5 separate regions of the Homo sapiens genome follow, and regions 2, 3, 4 and 5 are each linked to region 1. Evidence: promoter capture Hi-C in 16 types of primary human blood cells and fetal thymus (Javierre and others, 2016). All regions are on one chromosome and are shown on one strand. The core of a region is centred on a gene start or on the middle of the fragment in contact, and the rest is flanking DNA. Distances in the headings are between cores, read along the strand shown. Region 1 holds the start of ZNF92 (zinc finger protein 92). Region 2 holds the start of ZNF680 (zinc finger protein 680). Region 3 overlaps ZNF107 (zinc finger protein 107). Region 4 has its middle 28 kb from the start of ZNF138. Region 5 has its middle 47 kb from the start of ZNF273.

What was found. The method cuts DNA at HindIII sites, captures the fragments that hold promoters and counts their contacts. A CHiCAGO score of 5 or more calls a contact.
Region 2: the fragment with the promoter of ZNF680 here is called in contact with the fragment with the promoter of ZNF92 in region 1 in 2 of 17 cell types (naive CD8 T cells and non-activated CD4 T cells); the score reaches 6.6 in naive CD8 T cells.
Region 3: a contact is called between a fragment that was not itself captured here and the fragment with the promoter of ZNF92 in region 1, in 3 of 17 cell types (total CD4 T cells, neutrophils and M2 macrophages). The highest score is 7.4, in total CD4 T cells.
Region 4: a fragment that was not itself captured here is called in contact with the fragment with the promoter of ZNF92 in region 1 in 1 of 17 cell types (erythroblasts); the score reaches 5.3 in erythroblasts.
Region 5: a fragment that was not itself captured here is called in contact with the fragment with the promoter of ZNF92 in region 1 in 1 of 17 cell types (M2 macrophages); the score reaches 5.4 in M2 macrophages.

What each region holds. Positions count from the first base shown.
Region 1 is chr7:65,371,938-65,375,761 of GRCh38, forward strand. ZNF92 (zinc finger protein 92) reads left to right here and starts at 1,918. Exons shown (of 4, transcript NM_152626.4): 1 at 1,918-2,063. The coding sequence starts at 2,061. RefSeq lists a silencer at 1,783-2,053 and an enhancer at 1,949-2,348. The HindIII fragment of the contact is 7,156 bases long and covers 1-3,512 here.
Region 2 is chr7:64,560,867-64,564,690 of GRCh38, forward strand. It overlaps ZNF680 (zinc finger protein 680), which reads right to left and starts at 2,205. Exons shown (of 4, transcript NM_178558.5): 1 at 2,059-2,205. The coding sequence starts at 2,088. RefSeq lists an enhancer at 1,794-2,153 and a silencer at 2,254-2,363. The HindIII fragment of the contact is 20,565 bases long and covers 1-3,824 here.
Region 3 is chr7:64,666,433-64,670,256 of GRCh38, forward strand. All of the region lies in intron 1 of ZNF107 (zinc finger protein 107), which reads left to right. Among named protein-coding and RNA genes, the nearest start is that of ZNF107, 2.2 kb to the left of the region's middle. RefSeq lists an enhancer at 1-28. The HindIII fragment of the contact is 3,227 bases long and covers 240-3,466 here.
Region 4 is chr7:64,764,823-64,768,646 of GRCh38, forward strand. No RefSeq gene overlaps it. Among named protein-coding and RNA genes, the nearest start is that of ZNF138, 28 kb to the right of the region's middle. The HindIII fragment of the contact is 1,443 bases long and covers 1,508-2,950 here.
Region 5 is chr7:64,853,976-64,857,799 of GRCh38, forward strand. It overlaps a transcript of ZNF138 not described here. Among named protein-coding and RNA genes, the nearest start is that of ZNF273, 47 kb to the right of the region's middle. RefSeq lists an enhancer at 1,491-2,047. The HindIII fragment of the contact is 5,494 bases long and covers 1-3,824 here.

The sequences.
Region 1 (3,824 bases), core at 668-3,167:
TAATCCCAGCACTTTGGGAGGCCGGGGTGGGCGGATTACCTGAGGTCAGCAGTTTGAGACCAGCCTGACCAACAAGGAGAAACCCCATCTCTACTAAAAATACAAAATTAGCCAGGCGTGGTGGCGCATACCTGTAATCTCAGCTACTCAGGAGGCTGAGGCAGGAGAATCACTTGAACCCAGGAGGCGGAGGTTGCGGTGAGCTGAGATCGTGCCATTGCACTCTAGTTTGGGCAACAAGAGCGAAACTCTGTATTTAAAAAAAAAAAAAAGCCTTGGTTGGTTTGTTATGCTGCAATACCTAACTAATACGTGCACACAGTGCAGATAGGATGCCAGGATTTAATGACAGGTTGATTACTGGTTGTTATAGTTACCTTCCAACAGTTGGCACCCTAAAAGTGCTGATTTTTTTTTCTGCTCTAAAGTTGGATGTTTTGTAAGATAATATTGAGTAATGCAGAAAAATATGTAGGCATGTTTGCATGGGATTGGTACTTGTACTCACACAATCCCCACGCCACAGGAGAAAACAGATAAACACACTCTGGCCACTAGGGCCAGGCCAAATAGCAAAATAAGTTTACCTTTAATCTGTTTTCTCTATACTTAAACACTGGAAGTGATGACTGTGGAGAGATCTGAAGACATAGCGTTTAATCTCCTGTGGCCCCATCATCTTTTGGTTACTGTCTGATCTCTGGAAGAAAGGTGGGCAACAGGTGGCCAGCAGTGGTGTACCTGTGGTTATTTTATTCTTGCTGCCCTCTGCTCTTTCTATGGTGACTATCTTGTTCCACCCTCAAAACTGTAGAAAGATGTTGGTAAAGAGAGGCTGTCCCCTCACTTCTGGCAGAAAAGGGGTGTTCAGACCCTTCACCCTCCTGATGTCAGGGCTGCATTTCAATGTGGCAGCTATTGGCCATGTGTAGCTACTGGCTGCCTGGAATGTGGCTGGTCTGAATTGCAATGTGCTAGAAAGGTAAAATAGAGTTAATTTCAAAGATTCAGTTCCAAATAAATATATATACTTTATTAATAATTACATATCACTCACATATTAGAATAAGGTTTTAGATATATTGGGTTAAATTGTTACAATCAATTTCACCTGTTTCTTGTTTCTTTTTAAAGTTTGGCTGCTAAAAAATGTACAATTCACGTGTCGCCCACATTTTATTTTAGAGGATTGCCTTCTTTTTAAAATTTCAGGCTGCCTGCTTAAAAAAACAGAAGTTGGCCGGGCTCTGTGGCTCACACCTGTAATCCCAGCACTTTGGGAGACCGAGGCGGGCGGATCACAAGATCAAGAGATCAAGACCATCCTGGCCAACATGGTGAAACCCCGTCTCTACTAAAAATACAAAAATTAGCTGGGTGTGGTGGCGTGCGCCTGTAGTCCCAGTTCCTCGGGAGGCTGAGACAGGAGAATCGCTTGAACCTGGGAGGCGGAGGTTGCAGCGAGTTGAGCTCGTGCCACTGCACTCCAGCCTGGCGACAGAGCTAGACTCTGTCTCAAAAAACAAAAACCAAAAACAAAACAAAACAACAAAACCAGAAGCCAGGAAGGTCATAAAATCTGAAAATTTTGAATAATTGGTATTATATTCTTTGCATTTGTGAATAGACATATAATATACTATTTATAAATGCATATGGCCTTATTCACAAGGTTAAATGCAAATACTGTCTGGGGTGGGCCTGACTCAGCTCAGGGAGGAAGCCCCGTCTGAAAAGGCTGCAGCTTAGGCTGTCACTCTTCCTTCAGTCCAGCATCTGATCACATCTCCCGTCACTCAGGGCCCGAAGGGGCGGGGCCTTAAACGTTATCCAATCAGGAACGCTGGGCTGGGAACCATCCAATCAGGCACGCAACTGGAGCGGACAGCACAGCTTCCGGGATTTGGCGGGGCCTTTGTCTCTCGCTGCAGCCGGCGCTCCACGTCTAGTCTTCACTGCTCTGCGTCCTGTGCTGATAAAGGCTCGCCGCTGTGACCCTGTTACCTGCAAGAACTTGGAGGTTCACAGCTAAGACGCCAGGACCCCCTGGAAGCCTAGAAATGGTGAGCCTGCTGGGTCCCACATCCCGAGAGAGGGGGAGGGTCTGGCTGGAACCGATTGGAAGTGGCTGTGGCGGGCCTCGGGCCTTCCCGCAGTCGGCTCCGAGATCCGCGGCCCGAGTTCTCCTTGGCGCAGCTCGGCCCTCAGTCTCCTTCAGCCATAAGATGGCGGCTGGGCTGACAGCCGGGACCCCGGGCGTCCTGTCTCCTCCCTGCGCAGTGACTGTGCTTTGGCCTGGAGCCCTCCCTGGGCAGCTCTGCACCCGCAGCGTCGCATCTCTCGCCGAGTGTGCAGGGACGACGGGAGAATAGTAAAGAGAAGAATCCTGACTCGGGGTGCGGGGTTTATGAATGGGAAGAGCTTTGGTCCGTGTGGTTCTCAGGTCCTCTTTTTTCCTATTAAAAATTTATGGGAGTCAAGGTAAAAATATTGAAGAATTTAATCAAAGAGCGATTCAGGAATTTTAGAGCACCCAGCTATGATTTGTAGTTTGTGGTCCGTGGGAGGGGCTTGAAGGAAACACTTTTATAAGATGCATAATGAAAAAAAACAAGTTTAATAATTGGTTAGGTACAGTTACGTCGTTTTTTAATTTGTATGATTAAGGTAGAAATTTCCTGGTCATGTAATCAGAGATTGTCAGTTTATAGTTGGTTAAGCCTGAATTTTGTTCCCTCGGTGTTATTTACCCTCCCCTCCCCCCGCCAAAAATGCATTTGAATTATATTTTTTTTAAAGTAGGAACCCAGGGACTAGAGCCACCTCAATCTAATTGCCTGCCACTTAATTATTTTCACATCCACAGGGGACTGATTTTCCCCTGCAGTTTTCACATGTGTCCCAAGCAGGGTCTCAAGTCTACCCCCCATCCCTCATTCCTCCAGCTTAATTCTGGCTTGCAGTAAAATACTAAATTTCCAGTTCCTTCTGACATTCCCAAATGCCAACTTACCCTCCCTAATTCGCATTAGCAAGTGTGTTTCCTTTAGTGTACATTTTCGATGGCATATTTTAATTAATCATTTTTGGCAAAGCATTGGATGGCACGTTTTAAAAGATTTGTTTCCTGTTTGTAAATATTTCCTATGAGAAGAAAGCAAAGAATAATCCCCTAACATTGTATTGTAAATCTCTGTGCCTCTTTTCTTTTTATCTTCCTTAGGCACAGAGATCTTATCAGAATGTTTTTGGGTCATGGTTGCTTTCCCTTTGGAAACTTTATGGGGTGATGTGTTCTCAGCCACCCTTCAGTTCTTTTTCTGGTCCTGGGTTTTAGTACTGTCTGGGGCAAGATACCTACCATGGCAATGTCGCTAGAGTGTCTAGTAAATATCAGCTCCTGGGTCATTTTCTCTCGTAGAATAACCTGAAGTATGGAATGTAGCTTCTCAAGGGAGCAGGTGGATGCCCTGGGGCTGAGAAGCATCTCCTGGGCTACTCTTCCTTTGAAAAGCTTACCCCTTGAGATATTAAGATTGTCTTCACTCAACCCAGCTTTCATTTCTTGGAGAAACATTGCTGGTCAGCCAATCAGATGCTGGTACTGGGAGGAAAACACCAAAATTATTTCTGTCCCCAGGATTCTCTAAGATTTGTGGAAAAAAAAAAAGTATTCCAAAAGATACAACAAAACCTGACCTGGAGATCGAGACCATCCTGGCCAATATGGTGAAAGCCGGTTTCTACTAAAATACAAAAAATTAGCCAGGCATGGTGGTGCATGCCTGTAATCCCAGCTACTCGGGAGGCTGAGGCAGGGGAAT
Region 2 (3,824 bases), core at 955-3,454, 810 kb before region 1:
AGTCTGGAAAACAAAATAGTAAATGAGAATTTTTAACAAATGGAATATATGTAGATATTAATTTTTTTCTGAAACTCACCTCTTTTACACCATTCGTAAATATTTTACCTTTTAATTTCCTTTACAAATTTTTCACTATTTGTCTTTCACTCTTTTTTCATCATTTTTTTTCACTATTTTTCTGCCCCCTTAGAGAATCCAGAAATTATTTCTATGTTTTTCCCTCAATACCAGCATCTGATTGACCAGCAATGTGTCCCAAGGAAACGGAAGCTGAGTTGGGTGAAGACAATCTTAATGTCTCAAGGTGTCAGCCTTTCCAAGGAAGAGTGCACCAGGAGATTTCTCTCAGCTCCAGGGCATCCACCTGCTCCCTCGAGAGGCTACACTTTGTACCTCAGGCAGTCCTGTGGGAGAAAATGACCCAGGAGCTGATATTCATTAGGCACTCTAGCAGACATAGTCATGGTGGGTATCATGGTTTATTCCCAGACAGTACTGAAACCCAGGACCAGGAAAAATCTGAAGGGTAGCCGAGGACACATCACCCCATAAAGTTTCCAAAGGGAAACTGTGACCCCCCAAAATTCTGATAAGATCTCTGTGCCTATGGAAGATAAAAGGAAAAGAGGCGCAGAGATTTTTTACAATAGTGTCCAGGGATTACTCTTTGCTTTCTTCTTACAGAAAATTTTTACAAACGGAAAACAAATCTTTTAAAAAGTACCATCCAATGATTTCTCAAAAAATGATTAATTAAAATATAGTATCAAAAATGTACACTAGGGCCGGGCGCGGTGGCTGACGCCTGTAATCCCAGCACTTTGGGAGGCCGAGGCGGGTGGATTACGAGGTCAGGAGATCAAGACCATCCTGGCTAACTTGGTGAAACCCTGTCCCTACTAAAAATACAAAAAAATTAGCCAGGCGTGGTGGCGGGCGCCTGTAGTCCCAGCTACTCAGGAGGCTGAGGCAGGAGAATGGCGTCAACCCAGGAGGCGGAGCTTGCAGTGAGCCGAGATCGCGCCACTGCACTCCAGCCTGGGCGACAGAGCAAGACTCCGTCTCAAAAAAAAAAAAAATTTACATTAGGCACAGTGGCTCACGCCTGTAATCCCAGCACTTTGAGAGGCCGAGGCGGGCAGATCACAAGGTCAGGAGTTCAAGACCAGCCTGTCCAACATGGTGAAACCCGTCTCTACTAAAAATACAAAAATTAGCCGGGCATGGTGGCGGGCGCCTGTAATCCCAGCTACTCGGGAGGCTGAGACAGGAGAATCACTTGAACCCGGGAGGCAGAGGTTGTAGTGAGCCGAGATCGTGCCACTGCACTTCAGCCTGGGCGACAGAGCGAGACTCCGTTTCAAAAAAAAAAAAAAAAAAATCTAACTCAAATACATTGTTTTTTGTAAAGTATTACATTGGGGGAAATAAAATTCTTGCTTAACCAACTATAAACTGCCAAGTACCCTCCGATTACATAACCAGAAAATTTCCACTTTGATCTTACAAATTAAGAAGTTATGTAACTGTACCTAACCGATTATTGAATTTGGTTTTATTCATCATACACCACTTAAAAGTCTTTCCTTCAAGCCCCTCCCATGGACCACAAATTACAAATCATAGCTGGGTGCTCTACGATTTTTGAACCACTCTTCTATTACATTTTTAAATATATTTGCAGTGACTTCCATGAATTTTTAATAGAAAAAAGGAGGGACTGGGACCCCATGGACCAAAGCGCTTCCCATTTATGAACCCTGCACCCCGAGTTATCGGCAGAGATGCGGCACTGCGGGTGCAGAGCTGCCCAGCGAGGGCTCCAGGCCAAGGCACAGTCACTGCGCAGGGAGGAGACATGACGCCCGGGGTCCGGCTGTCAGCCCAGCCGCCATCTTATGGCTGAAGGGGACTGAGGACCGAGCTGCGCCAAGGACAACTCGGGCCGCGGATTTTGGAGCCCAGTGCTTGGAGCCTGGAGTCCTGCCACAGCCACTTCCGACCGGTTCCAACCAGCCCCTCCCCCTCTCTCGGGGTGTCGGACCGCACTCTCACCATTTCTAGGCTTCCAGGTGGTCCTGGCATCTTAGCTGTGCATCTCCCAATACCTGCAGATAACGGAGTCACAGAGGCTGGGCCTCTAGGAGCAGAATACACAGAGCAGTAAAGACTAGACCTGGAGCTCCCGCAGCAGCTAGAGACAAAGGCCCCGCCAAATCCCGGAAGCCGTCCTGTCCGCTCCAGCTGCGTGCCTGATTGGACGGGTCCCAGCCCCGCGTCCCTGATTGGATAATGTTTAGGGCGCCACCCCCTAATGCCCTGAGTGACAGAATATGTGCTCAGCGGCTGGGCTGAACGTAGAAAGAGTGAAATCCAAGCTGCAGGGTTCTCAGGGAAGGGCTTCCTCCCTGAACGGACCAGGCTCACACCAGAGAGTATTTGCATATAACCCTGCGTATAAGGTCGTATGCCTTTATAAATAATATATTATGTGGCTATTCACACATGAAAATAATGCAATAACAATTATTTAAAATTTTCCAATTTTATGAGCTCCTGGCTTCTTGTCCTTTGAGCGGGTAGCCTGACATTTTTTTTTAAAAAGGCAGTCCTCTGAAATTGAATGTGAGCCACGTGAATTCTAAATTTTCTAGAAGGAAAATTTTAAAAAGAAAAAAAAACAGGAGGAATTCATTGTAGAAATTTAATTAACCCAATATATCCAAAATATTATCATTTTAATATGTGACCAGTATGTAATTATTAACAAAGTATATATATTTTGGAAAAAAAATTAAAACTATGTATTTTACCTTTCTACCACATCGCAGTTCAGACCAGCCACATTCCATGCACCCAGTAGCCACAGGTGGCCAATAGCTGCCACATTGAAGTGCAGCTCTGATGGCAGAAGATGAAATCCTGAACATCCCTTTTCTTTTTTCTTTTCTTTTCTTCCTTTCTTTTTATTTCCTTTCTCTTCTCTTCTTTTCTTTCTTTTCCTTTCTCTTCTCTTCTTTTCTTTTCAAACAGAGTCTTGCTCTTATGTCCAGGCTGGAGTGCAGTGGTGCAATCTCGGCTCACTGCAATCTCCACATTCCGGATTCAAGCAATTCTCCTGCCTTATTTTCCCCAGAGTAGCTGTGATTACAGGCATGTGCCACCATGCCTGGCTTATTTTTGTATTTTTAGTAGAAATGGAATTTTGCCATGTCAGCCAGGCTGGACTCAAACCCCTGACCTTAAGTAATCCTTCTGTCTCATCCTCCCAAAGTGCTGGGATTACAGCCATGAGCCACCACACTGGGCTTGAACATCCTTTTCCTGCCATAAATAAGGGGAAAGTCTTTCCCTACCAACATCTCTCTTCAGTTCCAAGGGTAGAACAGATAGTGGCCATAGAAAGAGCAGAGGACAGCAGGAATAAAATAACAACAGGAAGACCACCTGTTGCCCACCTTTCTTCCAGAGATCAGACAGTGAACAAAGGACGATGGGGCCACAGAAGAAGAATGCTCTATGTCTACAGATCCCTCCCTGGTCTTTCTTTTTCTTTTTTTCTTTTTTGAGACAGAGTTTTGCTCTTGTCACCCAGGCTGGAGTGCAATGGCGTGATCTCAACTCACTGCAACCTCTACCTCCCGGGTTCAAGTGATTCTAGTGCCTCAGCCTCCCGAATAGCTGGGATTACAGGCATGTGCCACCAAACCTGGCTAATTTTGTATTTTTAGTAGAGATGGGGTTTCTCCATGTTGGTCAGGGTTGTCTCAAACTCCCAACCTCAGGTGATCTGCCCACCTTGGCCTCCCAAAGTGCTGGGA
Region 3 (3,824 bases), core at 603-3,102, 710 kb before region 1:
AGTTCTCCTTGGCGCAGCTCGGTCCTCAGTCCCCTTCAGCCGTAAGATGGCGGCTGGGCTGACAGCCGGGACCCTGGGCGTCCTGTCTCCTCCCTGCTCAGTGACTGTGCCCTGGCCTGGAGCCCTCTCCGGGCGGCTTTGCACCCGCAGCGCGGCATCTCTCCCCGATTGTGCAGGGATGCCGGGAGGGTCATCAGGGGAGAATCCTGACTCGGGATGCGGGGTTCATGAATGGGAAAAGCTTTAGTCTGTGGGGTTCCTAGTCCATCTTTTTTCTCTTAAAAATCTATGGAAGTCACCACAAAAATGTTAAAGAATTTAATCAAAGAGTAATTGAAGAATTATAGAGCACCCAGCTGTGGTTTGTAGTTTATTTTCCATGGGAGGGGCTTGAAGAAAAGACTTTTAGAAGGTGCATGATAAAGGAAAGCAAACTCAATAATTGGTTAGGTAGAGTTACGTAGTTTCTTAGTTTTAGATGAAGGTGGAAATTTTCTGGTCACGTAATCAGAGCTTAATTGGCAGTTCATGGTTGATTAAGTCTAAATTTTGTTTTCCCCAATGTAGTAATTTACAAAAAAAAAGCATTTGAGTTAGATTTTTTAAAAAGTAAAAACCCTGGGACTAGAGCCACCTCAGTCTAATTGCCTGCCATTTAGTTATTTTCACACTCCACAGGGGACAGATTTTCCCCTGCAACTTTCACGTGTCTCAAGCAGGGTCTCAAGACTACTCCCTATTCCCCATTCTTTTAGCCTAACTGACTTTCAGTAAAATGCTAAATTTCCAGTTTCCTTTGACATTCCCAAATCCCAGCTTCCCCTCCCTAATTCACATTATCAACTATTTGTCCTTTAGTGTACATTTTAGATACTGTATTTTAATTAATCATTGTTGACAAATTATTGGGTGGCACTTTAAACAAATTGTTTGCTGTTTGAAAATATTTCCAATGAGAAGAAAACAAAAAATAATCCCCTGACACTGTATTGTAAAAAAAAGTCTGTGCCTATTTTCCTTTTATCTTCCCTAGGCGCAGAGATCTTATCAGAATGTTTTTGGGTCAAGGTTTCCCTTTGGAAACTTTACAGGGTGATGTGTCCTCAGCCACCTTTCGGTTTTCTCCTGGTCCTGGGTTTCAGTACTGTCTGGGGATAAATCAAGATATCAACTGTGGCTGTGTATGCTAGAATCTCTAGTAAATTTCAGCTCCTGGCCTGGAATGGAACTCTGGGTATCTGGGAATGGGAGACAGAGGACAATCTGAGGTTGGAGTGTAGCCTCTCAAGGGAGCAGGTGGATGCCCTGGGGCTGAGAGGAATCTCCTGGTATACCCTTCCTTTGGAAAGCTAACCCTTTGAGGCATTAAGATTGTGTTCACTCAACCCGACTTCCATTTCTCAGAGGTACATTGCTGGTCAGCCAATCAGATGCTGGTATTGAGAGGAAAACTCAGAAATAATTTCTGCCCCCTGGATTCTCTAAGATTTGTGAAAGAAAAAATAGTATTCCAGAAGACAAAAAAAAAAAAAAATCAAACTTGACCCCAGTGAGATGGTACAAGAACTTGCAAAATGAAATGCACTTGGAGTAGTCACTGAGGCATAGGGCAGTGTCTACAGAGAGGGTGGTCATTGGGCACTTAAATGAGCAGGATGGGGTAGGAGAATCTAGTGTTTGGGTGGCCTGACTTGACACATGAGTCAGACACATCTGTTTTCTTTTTTTTTATTATTATTATACTTTAAGTTTTAGGGTACATGTGCATAACGTGCAGGTTTGTTACATATGTACACATGTGCCCTGTTGGTGTGCTGCACCCAGTAACTCGTCATTTAGCATTAGGTATATCTCCTAATGCTATCCCTCCCCCCTCCCCCCACCCCACAGCAGGCCCCAGTGTGTGATGTTCCCCTTCCTGTGTCCATGTGTTCTCATTGTTCAATTCCCACCTATAAGTGAGAACATGCGGTGTTTGGTTTTTTGTCCTTGCTGAGAACGATGGTTTCCAGCTTTATCCATGTCCCTGCAAAGGCCATGAACTCATCAGACACATCTGTTTTCTAATCAGCCCCGCCACTCCCTGGGTTTGTCACCTTGAAAAGATTTGTTCACTTATTTTGATTTCAGTTTTATAACTGTAACTTGCATTTTATTAGTATGATTTAAAAGTTAAGAAAATATTTACAGAGCATAAAAGAGGTGAGTTTCAGAGAAAAATAATATCTAATCATATATTCCATTTATTAAGAATTCTCATTTACCTTTTTCTTTCCCAGACTTAGTTTAGGAATTTACTCAGGTGTGTTTTTTATGGCTGGGTGATGTCCAACGGTATTCCAAGGCTTAGTTTTTAGAGTGCTAGCAGGGAAACAAAAAGGAAAAAAACCTCTCTTCCATTTTGACTGTAGAAAATGAATACATTTTTACAAGAAAATGTGGTAGATAATTGATGAGTTACATAGATTTATGAAAGCATCAGTTCCTCTTTTTGCAGGGTACTTTTGTTACAGTAAATACCTCTGTTCTATATCCTATCATCTTGATTTGTGAGGATAACGCTAATTTTTTTTTTTTTTTTTTTTTTTTTTTTTTTTTTTTGAGATGGAGTCTCGCTCTGTTGCTCAGGCTGAAGGGCAGTGGTGCGATCTCGGCTCACTGAAACCTCCGCCTTCCGGGCTCAAGCAATTCTCCTGCCTCAACCTCGCAAGTAGCTGGGATTACAGGCATGCACCACCATGCCCAGGTAATTTTTGTAGTTTTATTAGACACGGGGTTTCACCATGTTGGGCAGGCTGGCCTTGAACTCCTGACCTCAAGTGATCTGCCTGCCTTGGTCTCCCAAGGGATTACAGGCATGAGCCACTGCACCCAGCTGGTTAATGCTAAATTTTATGAGATGAAAGTTGGTACCTCCTAGAAGTATGACTTCTTGATTACTAATCCCATATGACTAATTGATTACTACCTAATTTTTAATGAAAATAATAGAATAATACATTTATCGTCTGAAAGAAATAAATACTTTGCATTTCTTACTGAGGTATGAAATGTAAGCACCTTAAAATTTCCTTCCCTTGGTTGGGTGCAGTGGCTCACGCCTGTAATCCCAGCACTTTGGGAGGCTGAGGCAGGCGGATCACCTGAGGTCAAGAGTTCAAGACCAGCCTGGCCAACATGGTGAAGCCCCGTCTCTACTGAAAAATTAGCCAGGTGTGGGTGACAGGCACCTGTAGTCTTAGCTACTCGGTAGGCTGAGGCAGGAGAATCACTTGAATCTGGGAGGCAGAGGTTGCAGTGAGCCAAGAGTGTACCACTGCACTCCAGGCTGGGCAACAGAGCGAGACTCTGTCTCAAAAAAAAAGAAAAAATAATTTCCTTCCCATATATAAATACTGTGCATAATTTTGCTGAATTTTTAAAGCAGTTTCAAAACCCAAGTGAATAACCTTGACATGGAAATTAAAGCTTATGCCCAGTGATTCCAAGCTAAGGCTAATATTGAGCCTGCAAAGGGAAGGGAGGTTATTAAAGGCCCAGTTAGTTCTTTCTTGGAAGCCTCCCCTGCTCACCCCAGCCATGGAAGAAGCCTTTATTCTGAGAGAAGCTACAGAGCCCTGGACGTCGGGGGACCCACAGGCAGATGCAGTTAACGTTAAGATGGAAGGGGAATGAGAGAGTCTTACTAAAGATGAAGTTGTTATCGTTTTGAGGCAGTATTTTACTTTTTGTAAAAACAGAATAAGGTTTCTGTAAAAAAAATTCTGAATTTTAAAGGAGTATTGCAACAGAAGGAAATACCAACTAAAAGATCTTTAAGAATT
Region 4 (3,824 bases), core at 979-3,478, 610 kb before region 1:
CCTTCCAAGACCTAAATGTGCAGTTCCAAATTCTGAATTCATGTCCTGGGATTCGAGGGAAGAAAAGAACTTTTATTTGAGACATGCAAGTTCTTTTAAACCAGAGATATATTAAAATGAGACCACAGTTATATTCTGCTCTCCTCTTTGAACTATTTATCTTTTTAAATTGGTTGGTATTGCCACAACCTAATAATGCCACACTTGACTCTATAACCCACACCCTATAGCTTAACAATGTATAGTCAATCGCTAACCAGTTATTTATATAAAACAATAAGAATTTTTGACAGATAACTTTGTATCAGTACCCTCTCTGCCTTCCTTTTTTGCCTTTAAAAATACACACTTACAACTGCTTCTAATTGGAGGGTATATTCAGGGCAACTTTTTACTCCAGGGTTGCAATCTTTAAGATTTAGCCAAAATAAACTCTCTACTTATATTATGTTTACCCCAGCTTTTTCCTTTTAGGTCAAAATACTTTTTACAATGTGTTGAAAAAAATTCCATGAGAGGATCTCTCCTCTGGTTTTACTTGGCTTGCTGTAAACCCCAAAAAGGGAGAGTCACTTTGATTTCACCTAAAATCTGCACATAAAAGCTGGTCTCTGCCTTGGATTCACAAGACAGGGCCAGACTTTGGGTTGAAGACATGCAGAAAACTCACAGAAGACATTTTCTGCACCATGAGCGATGAATATAGACATCTTAAGCTTTGCTTTTAGAGTGGAGCCCTTTGCCATGTCCAGATCTTGTTCCCAGTGTCCTGCTACAGCTGTGTAAGAGGCTTCTGGTGTCAACAGAATCCTGTGGTAGAATCTGTAAGTTAAACAAGCACCTTAGCAGTGGGAGGTCAGGGCCACAAAATATCCAGAGCCATAATCACTACTATACCTCCCTGTAAACTGTGTTACTGGAGTAGAGTATTTTCATCTTTTCTCTTACCCCAGAGTTAGCTGATCAGGGACAAGGAGTATCACATCCTGATCCACCTGGTGGATCTGCAGCTGGTCTGCAGCTCCACCAGGGCAGTTCCACTTATTATCTGTAGCCCAGAAAGTCACCCTGAGTCTCCTGCCTGGATCACTCTGGGGGCATCAGCCTAGGATCAGTGAAGACACTCTCACCCTCATTTGTGAGGGTTTGAGACATTTGAGGATGTCCTGTGCAGGCTGGGGTCAGGCTTATAACAAAATCTAATTCTGTTCCCATTTCAGAGGAAGAACAGTGACTCATCCAGGGTTTGTTTCTCCCTTCATAGAACATTCTTTTTGGTTTGTACTAGGATGGGAGTTTCTCTGGTTCTTTGGCAAAAAATGAATAGATCTGGATGCTCAAACTGGTCAGTCAGTGAATTTCTTCTCTTTCATATGGCCATTAGAGAAACAGATGAAGCTGTCATGGCCTCTACCATCTGGAAACTTGCAGTCTGGAGCACATAAATACATGGTTGAATTTCACATCATGTGATTAGTGCAAGGATGGAAGGTGCACAGGGAACTTAAGCTTCATTTGGGTCATTTTCCTTTTATTGTTACCTGAGTTTTTATGCCACCTCTGGAAGGGCTATTCATGGACAGAAGAGAAGTTGTTATTATTATTATTTATATTGCTTCTACTCAGCAGCATTGAGATTAGAAGCCTAGGGCCCATTCTCTGTCCCAAACCTGCCCAGATTCACCCTATGCTGAATCTTGTCCCAGTCTGACTCTACACGGGAATCTCTGACAGAACTGCTTAAAGGAGGTCAGAGTTTGGGGTGGTTGCTCCTACTGCCTCTCCAGAGCTGGTGCTCACAATTTTCTGAAATCCAAAAGCAGATAAATGGGAAAAAAAAGCTGTATACTTGGAACCTTAAAATCTTTTTTTTTTTTAATTAAAGCAGGTGCTTCTAGAGACATCCCATCCCTGTGGTTTTAGTAGTTTCTCGACAAGTCTCAATAAAATACAAACACAAAAATTAAAAATCCCTCTGAACTGCACTTAACACTTCCTTTCTGTATCTCTCCCATCTATCTATAACTATTATTGAGCTATTATTCTATATATTTTCTTTTTAAAATCAGTAATAGGGAAACAGAAGAAGAAATAGAAATGCTAGACCCTGTATTTAAATCCTGAATATTATTGGACTCTTAGTACCCATGTCCCAGTGTGTTAAAAAAAAAAAAACTTACATAATATGAGGCCAGCACAGTGCTCTGTGACATACTCCTGAGCACATAGTACATTCTGCATAAACATTGCATTAATGTATGTGCACATGTTGTTTTCCAAATGCAGATTTACTCAGACATTGCTACCATCTCCAGCCTCTGTAATATCTTTTTTTTTTTTTTGAGATGGAGTTTTGCTCTTGTTGCCCAGGCTGGAGTGCAATGGTGTGATCTTGGCTCACCAAAACCTCCACCTCCCGGGTTCAAGCGATTCTCTTGCCTCAGCCTCCCAAGTAGCTGCAATTACAGGCATGTGCCATCACACCCAGCTTTGTATTTTTTATATTTGTTGTATTTTTATATTTTTTATATTTTTAGTAGAGATGGGGTTTCTCCATGTTGGTCAGGCTGGTCTTGAACTCCTGACCTCAGGTGATCTGCCAGCCTCGGCCTCCCAAAGTGCTGGGATTACAGGCATGAGCCACCCGACTCCAGCCTCTGTAATCTTTAAAGGGCCTGCAAAGAATGTCATGTTTTAGGCTGGCGATTGGTGGTTCTTTCTTTGGATGAAAAGGATTTGTGTTGTGATAAGGATGTTGGAGTAAGGGACTCTGTGCTGTGCCTGCTTTCTGTAGCTGAGTGCTACTACAATGGTGTTAGAAGGAGCAGCATCTGCATTAACAGGGAACTTGTTAAAATAAGCTAATTCATGGACCTTTTGCAAACCTGCAGCATTATGTTACTTACTTACAGTGAGGCCTGAAATACCAAAACATTTATATGCACATTGAAGCTTGAGAGGCACTGCTTAGCTAAGTGATTCTCTGCCCAGTCTTCCAATAGGATCACCTGACCAGTTTGAAGAGATACCATACCCTGTGCCTCCCCACAGAATCTTTCTGTTGTTTTGTGTGGAAACATCCCTGTTTTTTAATTAAGTGCCTCACATGATTCTACAGTGAGGCCGGGATCAAGTGTGCGGACTTCCAGATACTTTATTTAAAAAAGGTTGAGTTCACCTTTTGTTCCAAATGAAAGTCACAGGGTCTGCTGTGCTTGGGTTTGGTAAGGGCAAGTCAGTGCGGCCCATATTTCCATTGCAGAAGCAAAAATTGCTGGTATGTCATCCTTTTTTCTCAGAGTTATAGAATGGCTTAGAGAGTATTACTGTGTTAAAAATGTATATAAGGATGTGATGTTAGAAAATGACAGAAACCTGATCTTCCTGGGTGAGGATAACTTTAATACATAATTCCTAGTAATCCTCAGAGTTTTATTTTCTCTCTTTGTAGAATGTTTCTTGGGAGATTCTGCTTTGCATGAATTAATTTTAGTTTCTTTCTTCAAGAATTGGAAGTTTGCTCGTCTAGAAAACAAATCTTTAAGATGTTTTATCTTGGCATAAAGCTTCTCTTTTCTTGAGCTGATTTGTGTGCTTCACTCTAGAAATTCAATGGCAAAAAATATTATTGCCCATATCTTTTTGGTTTTTTTTGAGATGGAGTGCAGTGGTGCGATCTTGGCTCACTTCAACCTCCGCCTCCTGGGTTCAAGCAATTCTCCTGCCTCAGCCTCCTGAGTAGCTGGGACTACAGGCACGTGCCACCATGCCCGGCTAATTTTTTGTATTTTTGGTAGAGATGGGATTTCACCGTGTTAGCCAGG
Region 5 (3,824 bases), core at 825-3,324, 520 kb before region 1:
CTGGGTAACAGCAAGGCTCTGTCTCAAAAAAACAAAACAAAACAAAAACCTCTTTAACCAGAAAAAAAAAAATAATTATTTTCACACTCACTTTTAATAAAAATTAACAAAAATTGAATAATTGGTTACATTTTCATTGTTTAATGTTTTTGTGAATGTATAAAATGGTACACAAGGAATAAATAAGCCAGAAAACTTAATATTTTTAGAGGATTCTACTATACTGTAATAAAATATTGAACTTTAAACACACACACACATACATATGTACTTCTTTTTTTTGGAGACAGAGTCTCACTTCATTGCTCTGGCTGAAGTGCAGTGACGTGATCTCAGCTCACTGCAACCTCCATCTCCCAGGTTCGACTGATTGTCCTGCCTCAGCCTGCGAAGCAGCTGAAACTACAGGCACACACTACCACACCTGGCTAACTTTTGTATTTTTAGTAGAGATGAGGTTTCACCAACTTTGCCAGGCTAGTCTTGAACTCCTGACCTCAAGTGATCGGCCCACCTCGGCCTCCAAAAGTGCTGGGATTATAGGCGTGAGCCATCACACCTAGTCATAATATAAATATTGCTTGAATGCATGAACATTTATGTAGATATTTGCTCTTAGATTAACATGACAAAAGTAACAATTAGAAAAAAACATTTGAAATGGGATAAAACTAGTCAAAACCACATCTTTTCAATGGCTTGGCATAATTGACATGCTTTTTGAAATGGCCAGATTACTGACAAGAAGCAAAGAGAAGATTTAGACTTCGGTCTATCGTTAAGGTTTTTATTTTTGAAATCTAAAATCCTGGCTAAAGGATTTGAAGAGAGTATTCTTTAGGTGGCTTCCTAGGGTTTTCAAGGCAATACAAATAATTTTCATGGGTAGGAAAATGCATACTATATACATACATTGCTTTTCTCTGATTTAACATTAAAAGATTGAAGATTGCAAATCTAATCTCTCAATTTAGAATAAATTAAAGGATTTATTTTTCAGCCAAGCAAATAATTATATTGAATTAATAGGTAACAAATGTCATTAGCTGACAAAAGATAGTATGACTAGATTCAGTAAGTATGTAGCCATGTAACTAACAGTCCATTAAATTAAGGCCCTTATAGGTGCGTGTGGACATCATTTCTGTACAATGTCATGCACCTCCACCCAGCACCTTCATTTGCCTGTTTACAGAGATACCAATTTCCCCTGAGTGACTCAGGGTGAATACTAAGAATTGAGAATGCTGTGTTCAGAGGGATTACTAGGAACATATTATAAAGAAATTCTGTAAATCTTACTCTGCCTCCCAAAGGCTATTAGTAAACAATTGTTTATTTACAGTGCTCAATTGAATTCATGGAAAATTTCAATATTCCTGGTAAGTCAGAGACGCTTAAATGTCAACAAAATTTCATAATACATACATGAATGAGATAAAGTCTTCTTAGTTAAGAATTTTATTTTATCTTGCGTGCAAAAATGTAAGGGGGCCTCTCCCTCTCCCTCTCCCTCTCCGTCTCCCTCTCCCTCTCCGTCTCCCTCTCCCTCTCCCTCTCCCTCTCACTCTCCCCACGGTCTCCCTCTCATGCGGAGCCGAAGCTGGACTGTACTGCTGCCATCTCGGCTCACTGCAACCTCCCTGCCTGATTCTCCTGCCTCAGCCTGCCGAGTGCCTGCGATTGCAGGCACGCGCCGCCACACCTGACTGGTCTTGGTGGAGACGGGGTTTCGCTGTGTTGGCCGGGCCGGTCTCCAGCCCCTAACCGCGAGTGATCCGCCAGCCTTGGCCTCCCGAGGTGCCAGGATTGCAGACGGAGTCTCGTTCACTCAGTGCTCAATGGTGCCCAGACTGGAGTGCAGTGGCGTGATCTCGGCTCGCTACAACCTACACCTCCCAGCCGCCTGCCTTGGCCTCCCAAAGTGCCGAGATTGCAGCCTCTGCCCGGCCGCCACCCCATCTGGGAAGTGAGGAGCGTCTCTGCCTGGCTGCCCATCGTCTGGGATGTGAGGAGCCTCTCTGCCTGGCTGCCCAGTCTGGAAAGTGAGGAGCGTCTGCGCCCGGCCGCCATCCCATCTAGGAAGTGAGGAGCGCCTCTTCCCAGCCGCCATCACATCTAGGAAGTGAGGAGCGTCTCTGCCCGGCCGCCCATCGTCTGAGATGTGGGGAGCGCCTCTGCCCCGCCGCCCCATCTGGGATGTGAGGAGTGCCTCTGCCCGGCCGAGACCCCGTCTGGGAGGTGAGGAGCGTCTCTGCCCGGCCGCCCCGTCTGAGAAGTGAGGAGACCCTCTGCCTGGCAACCACCCCGTCTGAGAAGTGAGGAGCCCCTCCGCCCGGCAGCTGCCCCGTCTGAGAAGTGAGGAGCCTCTCCGCCCGGCAGCCACCCCATCTGGGAAGTGAGGAGCGTCTCTGCCCGGCAGCCACCCCGTCCGGGAGGGAGGTGGGGGGGTCAGCCCCTGCCCGGCCAGCCGCCCCATCCGGGAGGGAGGTCGGGGGTCAGCCCCCCGCCCGGCCAGCCGCCCCGTCCGGGAGGTGAGGGGCGCCTCTGCCCGGCCACCCCTACTGGGAAGTGAGGAGCCCCTCAGCCTGGCCAGCTGCCCCGTCCGGAGGGAGGTGGGGGGGTCAGCCCTCCGCCCGGCCAGCCGCCCCGTCTGGGAGGTGAGGGGCGCCTCTGCCCGGCCGCCCCTACTGGGAAGTGAGGAGCCCCTCTGCCCGGCCAGCCGCCCCGTCCGGGAGGGAGGTGGGGGGGTCAGCCCCCCGCCCAGCCAGCCGCCCTGTCCGGGAGGGAGGTGGGGGGGTCAGCCCTCCGCCCGGCCAGCTGCCCCGTCTGGGAGGTGAGGGGCGCCTCTGCCCGGCCGCCCCTACTGGGAAGTGAGGAGCCCCTTTGCCCGGCCAGCCGCCCAGTCTGGGAGGGAGGTGGGGGGGTCAGCCCCCTGCCCGGCCAGCTGCCCGTCCGGGAGGTGAGGGGCACCTCTGCCCGGCCGCCCCTACTGGGAAGTGAGGAGCCCCTCTGCCCGGCCAGCTGCCCCGTCTGGGAGGGAGGTGGGGGGGGGTCAGCCCCCCCGCCCGGCCAGCTGCCCCGTCCGGGAGGTGAGGGGCGCCTCTGCCCGGCCGCCCCTACTGGGAAGTGAGGAGCCCCTCTGCCCAGCCACCACCCCGTCTGGGAGGTGTGCCCAACAGCTCATTGAGAACGGGCCATGATGACAATGGCGGTTTTGTGGAATAGAAAAGGGGGAAAGGTGGGGAAAAGATTGAGAAATCGGATGGTTGCTGTGTCTGTGTAGAAAGAAGTAGACATGGGAGACTTTTCATTTTGTTCTGCACTAAGAAAAATTCTTCTGCCTTGGGATCCTGTTGATCTGTGACCTTACCCCCAACCCTGTGCTCTCTGAAACATGTGCTGTGTCCACTCAGGGTTAAATGGATTAAGGGCGGTGCAAGATGTGCTTTGTTAAACAGATGCTTGAAGGCACCATGCTCGTTAAGAGTCATCACCAATCCCTAATCTCAAGTAATCAGGGACACAAACACTGCGGAAGGCCGCAGGGTCCTCTGCCTAGGAAAACCAGAGACCTTTGTTCACTTGTTTATCTGCTGACCTTCCCTCCACTATTGTCCCATGACCCTGCCAAATCCCCCTCTGTGAGAAACAACCAAGAATTATCAATAAAAAAATAAATTTAAAAAAAAAAAAAAAAAAAAAAAGAATTTTATTTTATCAGTAAATTTAGAGAAGAATTAAAAAAAAACAGTGCTTTGGGCAAAATAACAGTGGCACATCAGTACCACCCAAACAAGTGCTTTTCATCATCATCGTTAAAG